Regions from separate parts of the Homo sapiens genome. Here regions 1, 2, 3 and 5 are each linked to region 4. The links are contacts of gene promoters, found by promoter capture Hi-C in blood cells and fetal thymus (Javierre and others, 2016). All regions are on one chromosome and are shown on one strand. The core of a region is centred on a gene start or on the middle of the fragment in contact, and the rest is flanking DNA. Distances in the headings are between cores, read along the strand shown. Region 1 holds the start of CCDC17 (coiled-coil domain containing 17). Region 2 holds the start of DMAP1 (DNA methyltransferase 1 associated protein 1). Region 3 holds the start of GPBP1L1 (GC-rich promoter binding protein 1 like 1). Region 4 holds the start of HECTD3 (HECT domain E3 ubiquitin protein ligase 3). Region 5 holds the start of IPP (intracisternal A particle-promoted polypeptide).

Region 1 (2,782 bases), core at 277-2,776, 610 kb before region 4:
ACGAGGTCAGGAGATCGAGACCATCCTGGCTAACACTGTGAAACCCCGTCTCTACTAAAAATACAAAAAATTAGCCAGGCATAAGGCTGGGCGCAGTGGCTCACGCCTGTAATCTCAGCACTTTGGCACGCCGAGGCGGGCGGATCACAAGGTCAGGAGATCAAGACCATCCTGGCTGACACGGTGAAACCCCATCTCTACTAAAAATACAAAAAAAATTAGCCGGGCACAGTGGTGGGCACCTGTAGTCTCAGCTACTCGGGAGGCTGAGGCAGGAGAATGGCTTGAACCCGGAAGGCGGAGCTTGCAGTGAGCCCAGATAGTGCCACTGCACTTCGGCCTGGGCGAAAGAGCGAGACTCCGTCTAAAAAAAAAAAAAAAAAAAAGCCGGGTGTGGTGGCAGGTGCCTGTAGTCCCAGCTACTGGGGAGGCTGAGGCAGGAGAATGGTGTCAACCTGGGAGGCAGAGCTTGCAGTGAGCCGAGATCGTGCCATTGCACTGTAGCCTGGGCAACAGAGCGAGACTGTCTCAAAAAAAGAAGAGAAAAGGGTGTTTCTTGGCCGGGCGCAGTGCCTTACGCCTGTAATCCCAGCACTTTGGGAGGCCAAGGCGGGCAGATCACGAGGTCAGGAGATCAAGACCATCCTGGCTAACATGGTGAAACCCCGTCTCTACTAAAAAATACAAAAAATGAGCCAAGCGTGGTGGTGGGCACCTGTAGTCTCAGCTACTTGGGAGGCTGAGGCAGGAGAATGGCGTGAACCCAGGAGGCAGAGCTCATTGCAGTGAGCTGAGATCGCGCCACTGCACTTCGGCCTGGGCGACAGCGAGACTCCATCTCAAAAAGAAAAAAAAAAAAGTAAAGAGGGTTTCTTAAGAAATATGCGGTCACCTCAGAGCTCCTCCATATATTTTGGGAGTGGGAGTGGAGTGAAGAATTTCACCAACAGTTCAGGGTCTTTCTGGCTTCTGGCCAATCTTGGGAGAGAGAAGGGGTTTTTTTCTGGACTTGATTCCCTCATCTGATAGATTCATTCTGTTCGCCCACAGCTTTCATTTCTTGGGCTGTGCTGATTATCTTCGTCTACAGCTGAAAAATGAGGAATCAGGGAATGGGAGTTAGGGAGACTGCTATCCCTGGTGCGACATGGTTTCCAGGCAGAATGCTGGAAAGGTCAGAGTGCCTCCTTTGCCAGGTAGTTCTCTGGATTGGAGAATGGTACAAACTGTTACATCCACTTGGGAGTACAGCAATGAAAAAGATGACACTTGCCTTTTAGAGGCTATTAAATGACCAATGATGTAGTAAGTGATAAGGGCCCAGCCTAGTCTAGGAGGCAGCTGCTTTTTCCTCTTTATTAATAGTCAGGGAAACCAAGCTACAATTAGAGACTTGCCCACGTTCAGACTTTGTAACACTTTTTCAAGCCAGTGGCTCCTCCCAAACGGCCGAGGTTTCCCCACCCATTCTCCTGACCTGCCCAGCCCTGTGGTTGCTGTCCAGGGAGCTAAGGCTCTCCCCAAACAAACTTGAAGATCTCACAGACCTAATAGACACGGCCTTTCCTCTCTGCCTCTGGCTTTATGTCTCTTTCATCCTCCTCTGCCTTTCCCCTGCCCTTGATCCCTTCTGCAGGTCTTGGCTGGTTTCAGGAAACGGGTCCCATCCCATGGACTCCCACTCTGGGGAGCCTGCGCTCCTGCCCTGTGGGACCTGTGACATGGTTTTCCGCTCCTCAGCTCTGTTAGCCACCCATACTCAGCGCTTCTGCATTGGCCACCCGACCCAAGAGATGACATTTGGAGCACAGGCATCAGTTGCCACTGAACCCCAGCGGGCCGCGGTAAGGGCCTCCATGGCCATGGGTGGGGATTCAAAGGAGCCAGGACCTTTATGATTCCTCATCCTACTACACCCTATCCCCAGGTTGTGCCACAAGAACACCAGGGCGTGCCACAAGAACCCCAGGGCCTCCCAGACCAGCAGGCCAGTAGATCTGCTCTAAAGAGGTTAACAGAGGAGGTAGAGCTACCTACCTTCCCCCAGGGCTCAAAACGTTGAGCGTCTTCCCCAAACCTGTAGATCATACTTGGGACAGATTCTGCCCACGCAGAGATCGCGGATCGCTGTTACCTCCAGGTGCAGTGGCTGCGGCTATCCCTACAGGAAATGCGGCCCTGGATAACAGAGGTCCCCAGGGTGTTCGCGGGGCCCTGGACACGTTCCGAGGCGCGGCCTCAGAGTCCCATGTCCGAGGCGGTGGGAAGCCCCAGCGAGCGGCTGCGGGCGCTGTTCAGGACTCGCGCGAGGCGCGTGGCGGAGATGGAAGCGCAGAGCCGGGCCCTGCAGCTACGCGGCGAGGGTGAAGGAGATGGGGGACGGGGACCAAGGACCTCCTCTGCCCTCGCCGTTTGGCTTAAGCTTGCTCGGGCCGGTTCTGACTCGGCCCGCATTCCCTCAGAACTGAGCCGACGCCTCCAAGTTGTGGCCTGTACGCGGGGCGGGATGTCCCGCCTCTTCGGCCTGGAGCAGGAGATTCGAGAACTACAAGCTGAGGCCGGGAGGACGCGGGGAGCTCTAGAGGTGTTGGGGGCCCGCATTCAGGAGCTGCAGGCGGAGCCAGGGTGAGACCCGACTAAGCGGATCCCCGGAACATGCGGCTCCGGGGTGGGAGGGGCGGGCTGGCTGCAGCCCCGGGGCCTCTGATGCGTTACCGTCTCCCTGCGCGTCGCCTGCCACCCCAGGAACCCGCTGAGCTCCCGGCGAGAGGCAGAACTTTAT
Region 2 (2,700 bases), core at 90-2,589, 800 kb after region 4:
TGGTGAATGGCATCCACTTCCAAGGCCGCACCTTCTTGGAGCCCAACTTGGCCTTCACTGTACGGTATCCCTGGCCAGTGTCACTGGGTAGCAGTGGGGGTGCATCCCTGGCAGGGAGGTTTAGGGAGATGCGAGGTTAGAATCAGAAGGTGTGTTAAAGAGCTTTTTGTCCCAGGGAGCTGATCTACCCTACCCTATAGCAAGAAAGTCATGTCCTGGAGCAAAAGACTTCAGGTCCTCCTGCATCCTGCTAAGCAAGCAGGAGCCCTTGCTGGGGAGGAGAAAATTGTTAGAGAAAACTAGGAGTTAGGGGCATGGCAGGTGAATCAGGGGCCAAAACCTGGGGGACTTGGGACTCCAATACTTGCTTCTTGTCAGAGTAGAGCAAGGCATAGACTTCCCGGTGCATGCCCTCGGGCCTCTTGAAAGTCAGTGTCTCAGAGGACTTCTTGGATTTTTTCTGAGGAAGGAAACCACAGAAAGGAACCACAACCTAGACCCTTTCCTGAAAATTCTTTAGTCCAGCTCAATCCCTGAACAAAGCAGCACCTACAGGGTCAATGACAGGCAAACTGACACACTGTAAAGGCACAGAAACCCACTCCCAGGAACACCATCCTACGCCCAAATCAGAGCAGTCCCCTCCCCATCCCACCAACTCTCAGACTGTTACAATGTCTTGATCTCTCCCCAACAATATCTTGCAAAAATCACACTTGCCTGGTCCTCTCAGCTCTTAGAGGTGTCATACCCTCTTGGTCCCACCATCTCCCACGATGTCCCATCTCCTCCCTCCCATCAAGGATGACACATATTCCCTGTCCTGTTATGTCACCCCTTTTATCGCCCAACTCACTGTAAGTGTAGCACCCATCCCTTGCCCGTTGTCACTCCTCCCCATCTTCACTCCCCTACCCTCCCCTAGTCAACGCTTTCAGGTGCCCCTGCTACCTTGTCCGGGTTGATAATGTCCTTCTTGCTGATGGTCCCAGAGGCTGCATCCCCTTCTGGACCCCCGAGTTCTAGAATGTCCCGTACATCCGCGCCCGTAGCCATCGCGCCTGAGAGATGGGGGAGCCACCGGAGGTCAAGGGTCAGTGCCTGAAGAAGGACCAGGCTCAGGTCAGGGGGCGGGGCCAATCCAGACCTAAGCGGAGGCGAGTTGAAGGGGCGGGCCAAGAGGAGAAGGGTGGTCCAGGTCAGGTCGGGGATCTGCCTGTGCCCCACCGCTTGGATGTTCCTAACGGCCCCTTCAGCCACCTGGGCCCTCGCACTTCCGCACCTGGGTCCGGCAGCTGCAGCCCCCACTACCACTCCCCCGTCCCCGCAAAGCCGCGGCAGAAACTTCCGGCGGTGCTCATTCGGAACGCGGCCGACAGAAACACTTCCGGTCGGTGTTGTAGGAAACGAAGCCGACTGGCAACCGAGGGTGAAAGCTACTGGCCGTGCTGAGCTTGCCACCCTTTGGTTCTCCCGCGAGCCTGTTTTCATTGGTGCACTGCCTGCTTTCTGGCATTTTCCCTCTACGATGCTCCGTTGCGTCTCAGGCAGTGAAGAGATACCAGAACTTTGTGACTTTGGGAAGTCACTTAATTTCTCTGGACCTTTTTCTTTATTTGCCGAATGGAAATTGTAATGGCACCTGTGTAAATGAAATACCAAGAATCCTTGTAAAACATTAGCACGGTGCGTGGGACATTTACTATTTTTTTATTAAATGAGTTAATGATTTGAATTGCCCCCTCTTCATTAAGTGCTAATATGTACTAGGCACTGTGCTAAGCTTGGAGGTGAAGAGATAAACTTCAAATTGTGATAAGCTTGAAGATGAAGAAATAAAGGCAGAGCTTCCTAGGGCGGCTGCCAAAATGGAGTAAGGTGTGGGCCCTCATTTGCACCTCCTCTGATGGAGATAGCTGTGGGTTGTGGCCTCGTGGGGATTTCCTGGAGGCCAGCTTCGTGGCACTTCACTAGTACAGGAGCTAGCTGCACTCTTTGGGCTACGAAGAAGCCCAAAACACAGCCCCAAGCAGGAACCAGCTTAGAAGTATCCCTCAAGGGAATAAACCTGGGGATCTTCCTGGAAAGAGAGAGACAGGAGGTCCTGAGGAAGGGCACAAGGGACAAGGAAAGCAGCTCCCAGCTTCAGCAGTCTGCAAACCAGCCTGTCAATTTGAAGGACACATAGCCTGTGGGATAGGGTGGGGCTTGTTAAGGCATTAAGAAGGCCAGACCCCAAGTCGAGACCTGCCAAAGATACCAGCAGGGACTAGAGGAGCAGACAGTTTGCGCAAGTTAGCTATAAGTGGTGTAGCCTGTTCTGGCCTGGAGAAGACAAGGGGATACAACAGCTGTAGCCACAAGCCTGACTAGTCCCCAAAACTTTGGAGAACTAGGCCTGGAGGTACAAACCTGTTCCTGGGTCTGATTCCTGGATGGATCCACTGAGCTCCAAACAGTTGCCGGAGGAAGTCACAGTCTTACAGCAGAAATTGTCCACAGGGTAAGGAAATGGTCCTTGGAGCCAGAAAGGGAGAGAGCAATTGGCTGCCTGAAACACTTGACCCTAGTTGTAGTTAATTAATTGTGTAATTACTTGTTTAATATATATCTCTAATAGACTCATTTCTGTGAAGACAGGGATCACAGTACATAAAGGAATGTATGTGCCAGGCACTATTCTAGACTCTGGGCATGCAG
Region 3 (2,700 bases), core at 33-2,532, 680 kb before region 4:
TAGGGCCCTTTACTATCATTTAGAGGGGGAAAAAAGCCCAGTTCTTACATCCATTTTCTTTGCTGGGACCTATAAACTTCATTAAGGGTTAAAGAGCACAAGAGCAGGATTTTCACTTCCATGAAAGGTGTGGTGATAAGGGCCCTAGGCTTGGGGGTGGTTCGGAAAGTCAGATCATTTCTCCTACTGCCCTCGGCTTTATTTCTCGGCTATGTGACCTTGGGCAAGTCCCTTCTCTTATCTAGACTTGTTTCACAGGAAATGGCACCAGGCAATTTTAGTGCCCTTCCGTGTCTATGGATAAAACTGAAGACATGTAGTAGGAGATCTCAGGGGCCCACGCCGGCCAGTCCCTCCAATCCTCCGGATTCTAGGTAGTCTAGCTTCCTGGTTGCCAGCCATTACACGGTTTAGCTTTCCGTGCCGGATGGAGCCACAGCGAAGTCTTCCTTAATAGTAAGCGCTTTTAGTCGAGCTAGGCCTTCAGTTTTATTGCCTTCTCTGTCATGGCAGCGCCGCCCCTTCCAGTAGTGCGATACCCAATGAGACTTCAGGTAGGAGAAACGGCACTGTCGCAAGCGCAGGCTCTCGCCGGAATCCCGCCCTTCGCTTGGGCGGGGGAGTGACGCCTGCGCTCCAGGGGAACTACTACTCCCAGCGGGTAGCGCGGCCGACGCAGCCGCGCAGCCTCCGGGGCCAGGCCGTGTGGCCCGCTGGGGACTGGAGTCTCAACGACGCGCACACGAGAAGTAAGGAGCGGAAGGTGGGAAAGGGCCGGAAAACACACGTTCCTCCGAAACCGGTTTGCAAGTCCTTGTAGAGGTAGTTTCGGGACGCGCACTGGCCAAGGGGCGGGCTGTGGGAGGGTGAAGAAAAAAGGGATACACACATGCATACCCACCCACTCATTCATACGCGCCCAGGCCCTGGAAGTGGGCAAGGGGGTTAGAAGGGGCGTACTAAACTAGGCTTGTCCGTGCCTCAGGCGGCACGAGGAAAGGCAGAGGATTCAATTCTGTAGGGGGCAGAGGTGACCATGCGCCGCCTCAAGCGGCGAAGAAGGGAGCCGGGGGCGGGGCAGGGCATAACCGCCGTTCTGGAGGCCGAACGTTGGCAGCGTAGGGAACTGGCGTCCGGGAGGGTCGCCGGAGCAGTCCCTTGCGCATGCGCTTCTTCAGGTGGGCGTGTGTAAGGCGGGGTCGGACGGGGGATGGGAGGGCCGTGCTGCTGGTCGCTCCTCCTCCTCCACCCGCTCTGCCCCTCCTGGACCTTGTGGGCCGGGCAGCCATTTTGGGAAGAGCTTTGTTATGGTTGTGGACTAGCCGCCTCTGCCGGGTCGACAAGCTGGGGACGCGTCCTCAGACGCAGCGTCTAGTCCCTGGCCATAGCTCCGCCGCTGCCCGGTGAGTGGGAGTTTGGGAAACGGGGCAGTAGGAGATCCTGGAGTCGTTCTGGCGCGGGGCTCCGCCCGGTGCCTAACCAACGGGCTGTTAAAACTAGTTGAAAGAAGCTCTCACACAGGTGGTTGGGTATAGGTCCGACCCGAGAGGGGCGAGCGGAGCCCACGGGTCAAGTGGTTCGGATGCGGCACCCCCGCCTCCCCCGTGCATGGAGCTTTGCACGCGAGCGTCGCCGGGGCTCCGCGAAAGCGCTCCTACTTTAACTTCGGTCGTCGGGTCGGAACGCTCACCTGCGGCTCTTTGGCTCCTCTCCAGGCGATCCGGCTTGGTGCTCGTTGAGTGACTTGGCTTACGGGTTTTTTTCTTTCCTTCTTGAAATGAGAGCTAAGGGCTTTTGTTTTCCTTCAAAGGAAAACCTAAGGAGGAAAAAGTGTAAGTCAAATGTTGGATATCTGAGGGGAAAAAAGTTTTAACCCCCAGCTTTCCGGTTCTCTGTGGTAGCGAGGTGTTTTCGCTTAGATTGAGTCTATCCGATATCTACCAACCTCCTTTCCTTGGAGGGGCAGGGAAAGCTGGTCGATCCTGAAATGTTTTAAGTGTTATTTTTTTTCTGTTGTTTTAAATCTAGTTCTCCCCAACCCGTGAAATTCGAAAGACAGTCTGAATCCAAAATGGCTGTAGCTTGGGGAAGTGCCCTGCCCTTCGATTACTTAAATACATTAACGTTTAAAGATTTTAGTCCTTTCCCCTGTGGGGACATTAACTGAATCTTTTGATATTTTGGTTTTTTGCAGTTGGTGTCTCACCTTTAACTCTCCTTATGCTGGGTGAAAACAAAGGTGAGGCTCACAAAGTTGACTATTCCAAAAGTTTACATAAGAATGGGTGCGGTGCGGTGGTGTGTGTGTTTAATAGTTGCTTATAGTTTTGAAATTGTGCTGTGGTGTCAATTTTATCTGCCAACTTCGTGCTCTGAAGTTGGCTTGTCATATTTGTTGAAATATTTTTAACATTGACATTTATTGCTTACCAGAAAAATACAGTTAATAATAGTGGTTCATGTTTTAGTTTAGTAGTAAGTCGTGTTCTTGTGTAAATCTTATCCAAAAGTAAAGTGATTGGTAGTCACTCCTCATTAGACTTATATTTGTAATTTAGTAGACTGCTGATCTTTTCTAAGGTCTTTTTTATCCAATATTTGAAAGGAAATTAGGGTGCTATTAAGTTTGAGATATTTACTAGAATAGTGTAAGACATTTTAACAAGTGAAAACATACTTTAGGTATGGAGTACCTGATTG
Region 4 (2,700 bases), core at 1-2,500:
GGGCTGGTTCAGGGGCTGAGAAATACCCAGGCTGGGGGATAAAGAGGGATCAGAGTTGATGGTCCCAGAATAGAGATCCTGGTTGGAAATCCTGAGGCATCCCTTGAATTAAGGCCCTGGGATGAACATCTCAAAAATCCATGGTTTTAGGATTCAGGATCCCAGCTAACGGAGTTCAGGTTGGGAGGTCTCCAGGGTGGGGAAAGGGGAGTAGAGGGATAGAGTCCTGAGTTGGAAGACTCAAATTAGAAGCCCGGCTAGCCACACCGCGTGCTCTGGAGAACTCACCCCAACCCATTCGCTTCCATGGTCAGCTGTCTGTAACTGCGAGCTCAATCCACAATTTAACCTGAATCTGAGCCTGCCCCCCAGTCCAGGCTCCGCCCCTTTCTGTAGGGAACCAAGAGCGTCGCCATGTTGAAGATCACATGATCGGACTCCAGCGACAGCTCCAGGGCTGCCCTGGCTGCTGCCCGTAGGACCCCTACCTTTTTTCACCGTAAAGTTTGCTGTAGCGACGCAACAACAAAGGCCCAAAAGAAAACTCCGCTGTAAATGTATCTTACGGTGACATGAGGAATTTGTTCTCATCTGACAGTCTGGGTATCCGGAGGCTTGGCGCAAGTCCCACTCATGATACCAACAGTCTTATCCAGCCAGGTCCATACTATAGCCTGGACCTATAGTAGGTGCAGAGGTTAGCTCTGCTCAAGACAGCCCCAGCCTTTAAGGAGCTACAAGACTGGGGAAACAGAAATCAGCAATCACATTAAAATGAATAATGATCTCCAGTGTCCTTGGGATTAGGAGTGACAAACAGAATCAACCCTAATGACTCAAGACTCCTGTCAGTGGCAGGGGAAGGGGCCATTGTCTCAAACACTTTAATCACACCACCCATAGGATAGGGAGTCCAGCAGATTCGCTGGGAGTGGGAGGAAAAACAGCAGGCCGAAGAACCAGAAAAATGACTGTTGGCAATGACCCAGGCTAGCTAGAATGGTGACTTGAATGAGGGTAGTAGCAGTAGAGATAAAATGGTAGTCACAAGGAAATGGAGAGAGGGAGATTGATCAGGTAGCAATCACCAATCTTGGGTTTGGTCGGCTGGGTTAGGGTGGCACAGAGATAAGTAATATGGTTGAGTGTGGGAGTACACAGTCCAATACAGTGAGAGCTGGGGTGCGCTTAGTCCAGAACATACGGCAAAGGCTGGCCAAAGGCGGGGAAGGGCGTGGTGGGAAGCTCTGTCCGCGGTCGCGCCAGCTGTTCCCCGGGCAGGGTCGCCTCTAGGTGCTCACCTCCGCCACTTCGCCATGGCGGGTCCTGGCCCGGGCGCGGTGCTGGAGTCCCCCCGGCAGCTGCTGGGCCGCGTGCGCTTCTTGGCAGAGGCAGCGCGGAGCCTCCGCGCCGGGCGGCCGCTGCCAGCAGCGCTGGCTTTCGTGCCGCGAGAGGTGCTCTACAAGCTTTACAAGGACCCAGCGGGACCGTCGCGCGTGCTTCTGCCGGTGTGGGAGGCAGAGGGCCTGGGGCTGCGTGTGGGCGCCGCAGGCCCAGCCCCCGGTACCGGCTCCGGGCCCCTCCGCGCCGCCCGCGACAGCATTGAGCTCCGGCGCGGCGCCTGCGTGCGCACCACGGGCGAGGAGCTGTGCAATGGCCACGGGCTCTGGGTGAAGCTGACAAAGGTGCGCTCTTCCCTGCCCAGGACCCGGTAAAAGACCCCTGGGGCCAGAGAAACCTCTGGCTGTTTGCCTTTTCTCCCCTGTATTGAGTTGGCATTGCGTTCGGCGCCCTTTGCCCTGGGCTGGGCACGACAGGCGGCTGGGCAGTTCCCTGACGGCTGTCCCCATCCTACGCGTCCCGGCAGGAGCAGCTGGCAGAGCACCTGGGCGACTGCGGGCTGCAGGAAGGCTGGCTGCTGGTGTGCCGCCCGGCGGAGGGCGGAGCCCGCCTGGTACCCATCGACACTCCCAACCACCTCCAGCGGCAGCAGCAGCTCTTTGGCGTGGATTATCGGCCGGTGCTCAGGTACTGCACTTGAAGGAGCGGGGCTGGCTGTCAGAAGGCCGGGCCAGGAGGGCTTGGGAACACTTCAGCCACAGCCTGGGGTGGGTGGGATACTGGAGCGGAGGCAGGGTTAAGAGCAGAAAGGGGCGGGACGTGAAGGGGGCTCGGAGGGAGACTGGGAGATAGAGCCCTGAAGAAGGCTACACGGCATGGAGGTAGTGTCTTGCTGACCGCTGATGTCTCCCCATCCCACTCCCTACTCTGTGCCCACAGGTGGGAACAGGTGGTGGACCTGACATACTCACATCGCCTGGGATCGAGACCTCAGCCGGCAGAGGCATACGCAGAAGCTGTACAAAGGCTACTGTGAGTGAGCTGGAATGGGGTGGGGAGGAAGGAGCTCTGCGTCTGGGCCCAGTCTAATTAGGGGCTTGGGGTTGCTTAGCTATGTACCCCCGACATGGACCTACGAGTGCGACGAGGACCTGATCCACTTCTTGTATGACCACCTGGGCAAGGAGGATGAGAACCTGGGTAGCGTGAAGCAGTATGTGGAGAGCATAGACGTTTCCTCCTACACGGTGGGTGCTGGGGCTCCTCCCACCCCAGGCAAGATATAGTCACACCCCTCAAGGCTAGATCCAGAAAGAACCCCCACCTGCAGGCCAGGACTAAAACAGGGTCCCCACAGGC
Region 5 (2,716 bases), core at 128-2,627, 740 kb before region 4:
AGAATTCTCTTTTCCTCATTTCCAAGTCTTTGACAATGTTTGCTGACAATAGGTCCCTGTTAGCAGTTTTTGGTAATGAAGTAGAAAAGAAGAAATAAAAATTTAGTGCACTGCGGGTCGTAAGTGTAAACATAGTTTTGTGAAGATTTTGTTTCAGGCCAGGCACAGTGGCTCACACCTCCCAGCACTTTGGGAGGCCGAGGCGGGCGGATCACTCGAGCCCAGGAGTTGGAGACCAGCCTGGTCAACATGGCGAAATCTTGTCTCTACTAAAAATACAAAAAATTAGCCTGGCGGTGGTGGCACAGGCCTGTAGTCCCAGCTACTCAGGAGGCTGAGGTGGGAGGACTACCAGAGCCCAGGAAGTCGAGGCTGCAGTGAGCCGAGATGGCACCACTGCACTCCAGCCTGGGCGACAAAGCCAGGCCCTGTCTCATAAAAAGAGAAAGAAATACACTTTGGGAGGCCGAGTCGGGCGGATCACCTGAGGTGGGGAGTTTGAGACCAGCCTGACCAACATGGAGAAACTCAGTCTGTACTAAAAATACAAAATTAGCCGGGCATGGTGGCGCATGCCTGCAATCCCAGCTACTTGAGAGGCTGAGGCAGGAGAATCGCTTGAACCCAGGAGGCGGAGGTTGCGGTGAGCCGAGATCCGGCCATTGCATTCATTCTAGCCTGGGCAACAAGAGCGAAATTCCGTCTCAAAAAATAAAAAATAAAAATAAAAATAAAGAAATGAGATTTTATGTTAGATATATACTTCTATATATATACTCACAAGTATGTGGTATTGAGTTTGATGTAAAATATTTTTGTTCACCGTAGGCTGGGATCAAAACAGTTTGAAAGCCACTAATGTGACACATGAGGGTCAACAGTGAAAAAAACTGGACTTTTGAGTTCTTCCTTCCCCAAAATAAGTATCCCTTCAGTGCCAGGCTCAGTCATGCACTCAGAAAACGATTCGAGAGAACAGTAGAGAAGGACCGTGCCAGGTGTTCGGCTCGTCTCTGCTTAACTGAGATCCGCGGCCTTCTTGGGACACCACAAGAATCAGAGTGCAAGCGGAATGGAAAGGGCGAGCCAGCCGGCCCCAGCAGGCAGAAGCAGAGGCTTGCAGCTAAGCTGTTGATCCTTGGGGAAGCAAGCCCAAGCCCTGGGCCCCATCAGTGGGCACTGAGAGGCGCCAGCGGCCCAGTCTCCCGCGAGCGGAAGAACCTCGCGCACGCGCAGTGAAAACCCAGGGCCCGCGAAGCGTCCGAAGTCCCTTCCCACCGCCCGGCTTCGCCTCCAGTTCTCGGGGAACTGTACGGCCCAGTCACTCCCGCCTCGTCACCCCCGCCAGGTTTCCCCCGCCCTCTCCGGCCGGGGCTGGTCGCGACTGCGCGCGCAGGGCCTGAGCGGGCGCCGGAGGGAAGGGGAAGCGGCGGGTAAGGAGGGCCTGCGTTCGGGCGCGTCTGTGACGGGGTTGGGAACTTCCTCTTCTACTCCCTCCGGCTTTCCGGACCCCTGAGGACTGGAGTGAGAGAAGCCTCTAGAACTGTGTATTTCCTTGTCTTTCCTTCTGCCGCCGCAGGCCTTCCTCCGACAGTCTAAGTGTCGCCCTCCCCAGACCTTCTCGTCCGGACCGCTCCTGCCTCCCCCGCCCCAACTGGGGAATCCTGAGGCTGTGTCCCCAGTCCCTCTGTTGTCGCCTCGTTTGTCTGAGATCCCTTCCCTGACCTTTAGGTAGCGCAGGAACGATTATTAGCTTTTAGTGTAGCAGCAGTTTAGGGCTAGCTCTCTAGGCCGGGCCCCCAACTCAAGCACAAAGAACCACGGGTGTTTTGACACTTGTTCCGGGGATTCTTTCTGACACCCCTTTGCTGAAGCAGTTTCCACATGTTCCCAGCAGTGAATTCAAAGCCAGCAAACATAGGTCCGCTTTAGTTCCTCTGGGCATTTCTACCGTTTCCTAATAATCTGCTTTTTTTTTTGAGACAGTCTCGCCCCTTCTCCTAGGCTGGAATGCAGTGGTGCGATCACAACTCACTGCAGCCTCGACTTCTCAGGCTCTAGCGATCCTCTCACCTCAGCCTCCCAAGTAGCCGGAAGTACAGGCTTGCCCCATCACAGCCAGCTAATGTTAAAACAATTTTTTTTGCGGCGGGGGGCTCGCTGTATTGCCCAGGCTGGTCTTGAACTCTAGGACTCAAGCGATCCTCCCTGGCCGGGCGCGGTGGCTCACGCCTGTAATCCCAGCACTTTGGGAGGCCGAGGCGGGCGGATCACGAGGTCAGGAGATCGAGACCATCCTGGCTAACACGGTGAAACCCCGTCTCTACTAAAAATGCAAAAAATTAGCCGGGCGTGGTGGCGGGCGCCTGTAGTCCCAGCTGCTCGGGAGGCTGAGGCAGGAGAATGGCGTGAACCCGGGAGGCGGAGCTTGCAGTGAGCCGAGATCGTGCCACTGCACTCCAGCCTGGGCGACAGAGCGAGACTCCGTCTCAAAAAAAAAAAAACAAAAAACAAAAACAAAACAAAAAAAAAAAACAAAAAATCAAGCGATCCTCCCGACAGGACATCCCAAAGTGCTGGGGTTATAGGTGTGAGCCACCTTGCCCAGTCAACAATCTGCTTTTCAAGTTTGGGGCACGTGAGGCATGCAACGTCACAGAATTGTGCTCTTTTCCTTTGGAAATATGGTCACTCCACATGCCACCTTTTGGGATGA

Evidence for each region. Contacts are between HindIII fragments. The CHiCAGO score rates a contact against its expected background, and 5 or more counts as called.
Region 1: the fragment with the promoter of CCDC17 here is called in contact with the fragment with the promoter of HECTD3 in region 4 in 4 of 17 cell types (total CD4 T cells, neutrophils, total CD8 T cells and 1 more); the score reaches 9.6 in total CD4 T cells.
Region 2: a contact is called between the fragment with the promoter of DMAP1 here and the fragment with the promoter of HECTD3 in region 4, in 5 of 17 cell types (neutrophils, activated CD4 T cells, total B cells and 2 more). The highest score is 9.4, in neutrophils.
Region 3: the fragment with the promoter of GPBP1L1 here is called in contact with the fragment with the promoter of HECTD3 in region 4 in 9 of 17 cell types (neutrophils, total CD4 T cells, activated CD4 T cells and 6 more); the score reaches 20.0 in neutrophils.
Region 5: the fragment with the promoter of IPP here is called in contact with the fragment with the promoter of HECTD3 in region 4 in 2 of 17 cell types (neutrophils and total B cells); the score reaches 7.2 in neutrophils.

What each region holds. Positions count from the first base shown.
Region 1 is chr1:45,622,798-45,625,579 of GRCh38, reverse strand. CCDC17 (coiled-coil domain containing 17) reads left to right here and starts at 1,526. Exons shown (of 13, transcript NM_001114938.3): 1 at 1,526-1,844; 2 at 1,928-2,023; 3 at 2,141-2,363; 4 at 2,463-2,625; 5 at 2,746-2,782. The coding sequence starts at 1,671. The HindIII fragment of the contact is 6,664 bases long and covers 1-2,424 here.
Region 2 is chr1:44,212,110-44,214,809 of GRCh38, reverse strand. DMAP1 (DNA methyltransferase 1 associated protein 1) reads right to left here and starts at 1,339. Exons shown (of 10, transcript NM_019100.5): 1 at 952-1,339; 2 at 369-460; 3 at 1-107. The coding sequence starts at 1,056. RefSeq lists enhancers at 1-495, 1,261-1,500, 1,239-1,533 and a silencer at 1,931-2,030. The HindIII fragment of the contact is 5,612 bases long and covers 1-1,785 here.
Region 3 is chr1:45,685,115-45,687,814 of GRCh38, reverse strand. It overlaps GPBP1L1 (GC-rich promoter binding protein 1 like 1), which reads left to right and starts at 1,282. Exons shown (of 13, transcript NM_021639.5): 1 at 1,282-1,403; 2 at 2,195-2,239. RefSeq lists enhancers at 642-971, 992-1,111, 1,182-1,231, 1,292-1,441, 1,068-1,666. The HindIII fragment of the contact is 19,533 bases long and covers 1-2,700 here.
Region 4 is chr1:45,009,874-45,012,573 of GRCh38, reverse strand. It overlaps HECTD3 (HECT domain E3 ubiquitin protein ligase 3), which reads left to right and starts at 1,250. Exons shown (of 21, transcript NM_024602.6): 1 at 1,250-1,685; 2 at 1,868-2,028; 3 at 2,281-2,373; 4 at 2,453-2,588. The coding sequence starts at 1,317. It overlaps UROD (uroporphyrinogen decarboxylase), which reads right to left and starts at 320. Exons shown (of 10, transcript NM_000374.5): 1 at 289-320. The coding sequence starts at 308. RefSeq lists enhancers at 224-353, 394-443 and silencers at 1,204-1,333, 1,414-1,583. The HindIII fragment of the contact is 5,887 bases long and covers 1-1,468 here.
Region 5 is chr1:45,749,314-45,752,029 of GRCh38, reverse strand. IPP (intracisternal A particle-promoted polypeptide) reads left to right here and starts at 1,377. Exons shown (of 9, transcript NM_005897.3): 1 at 1,377-1,433. LOC105378693 (a long non-coding RNA gene) reads right to left here and starts at 1,081. Exons shown (of 3, transcript XR_947290.2): 1 at 782-1,081. RefSeq lists a silencer at 1,267-1,536. The HindIII fragment of the contact is 27,355 bases long and covers 1-2,716 here.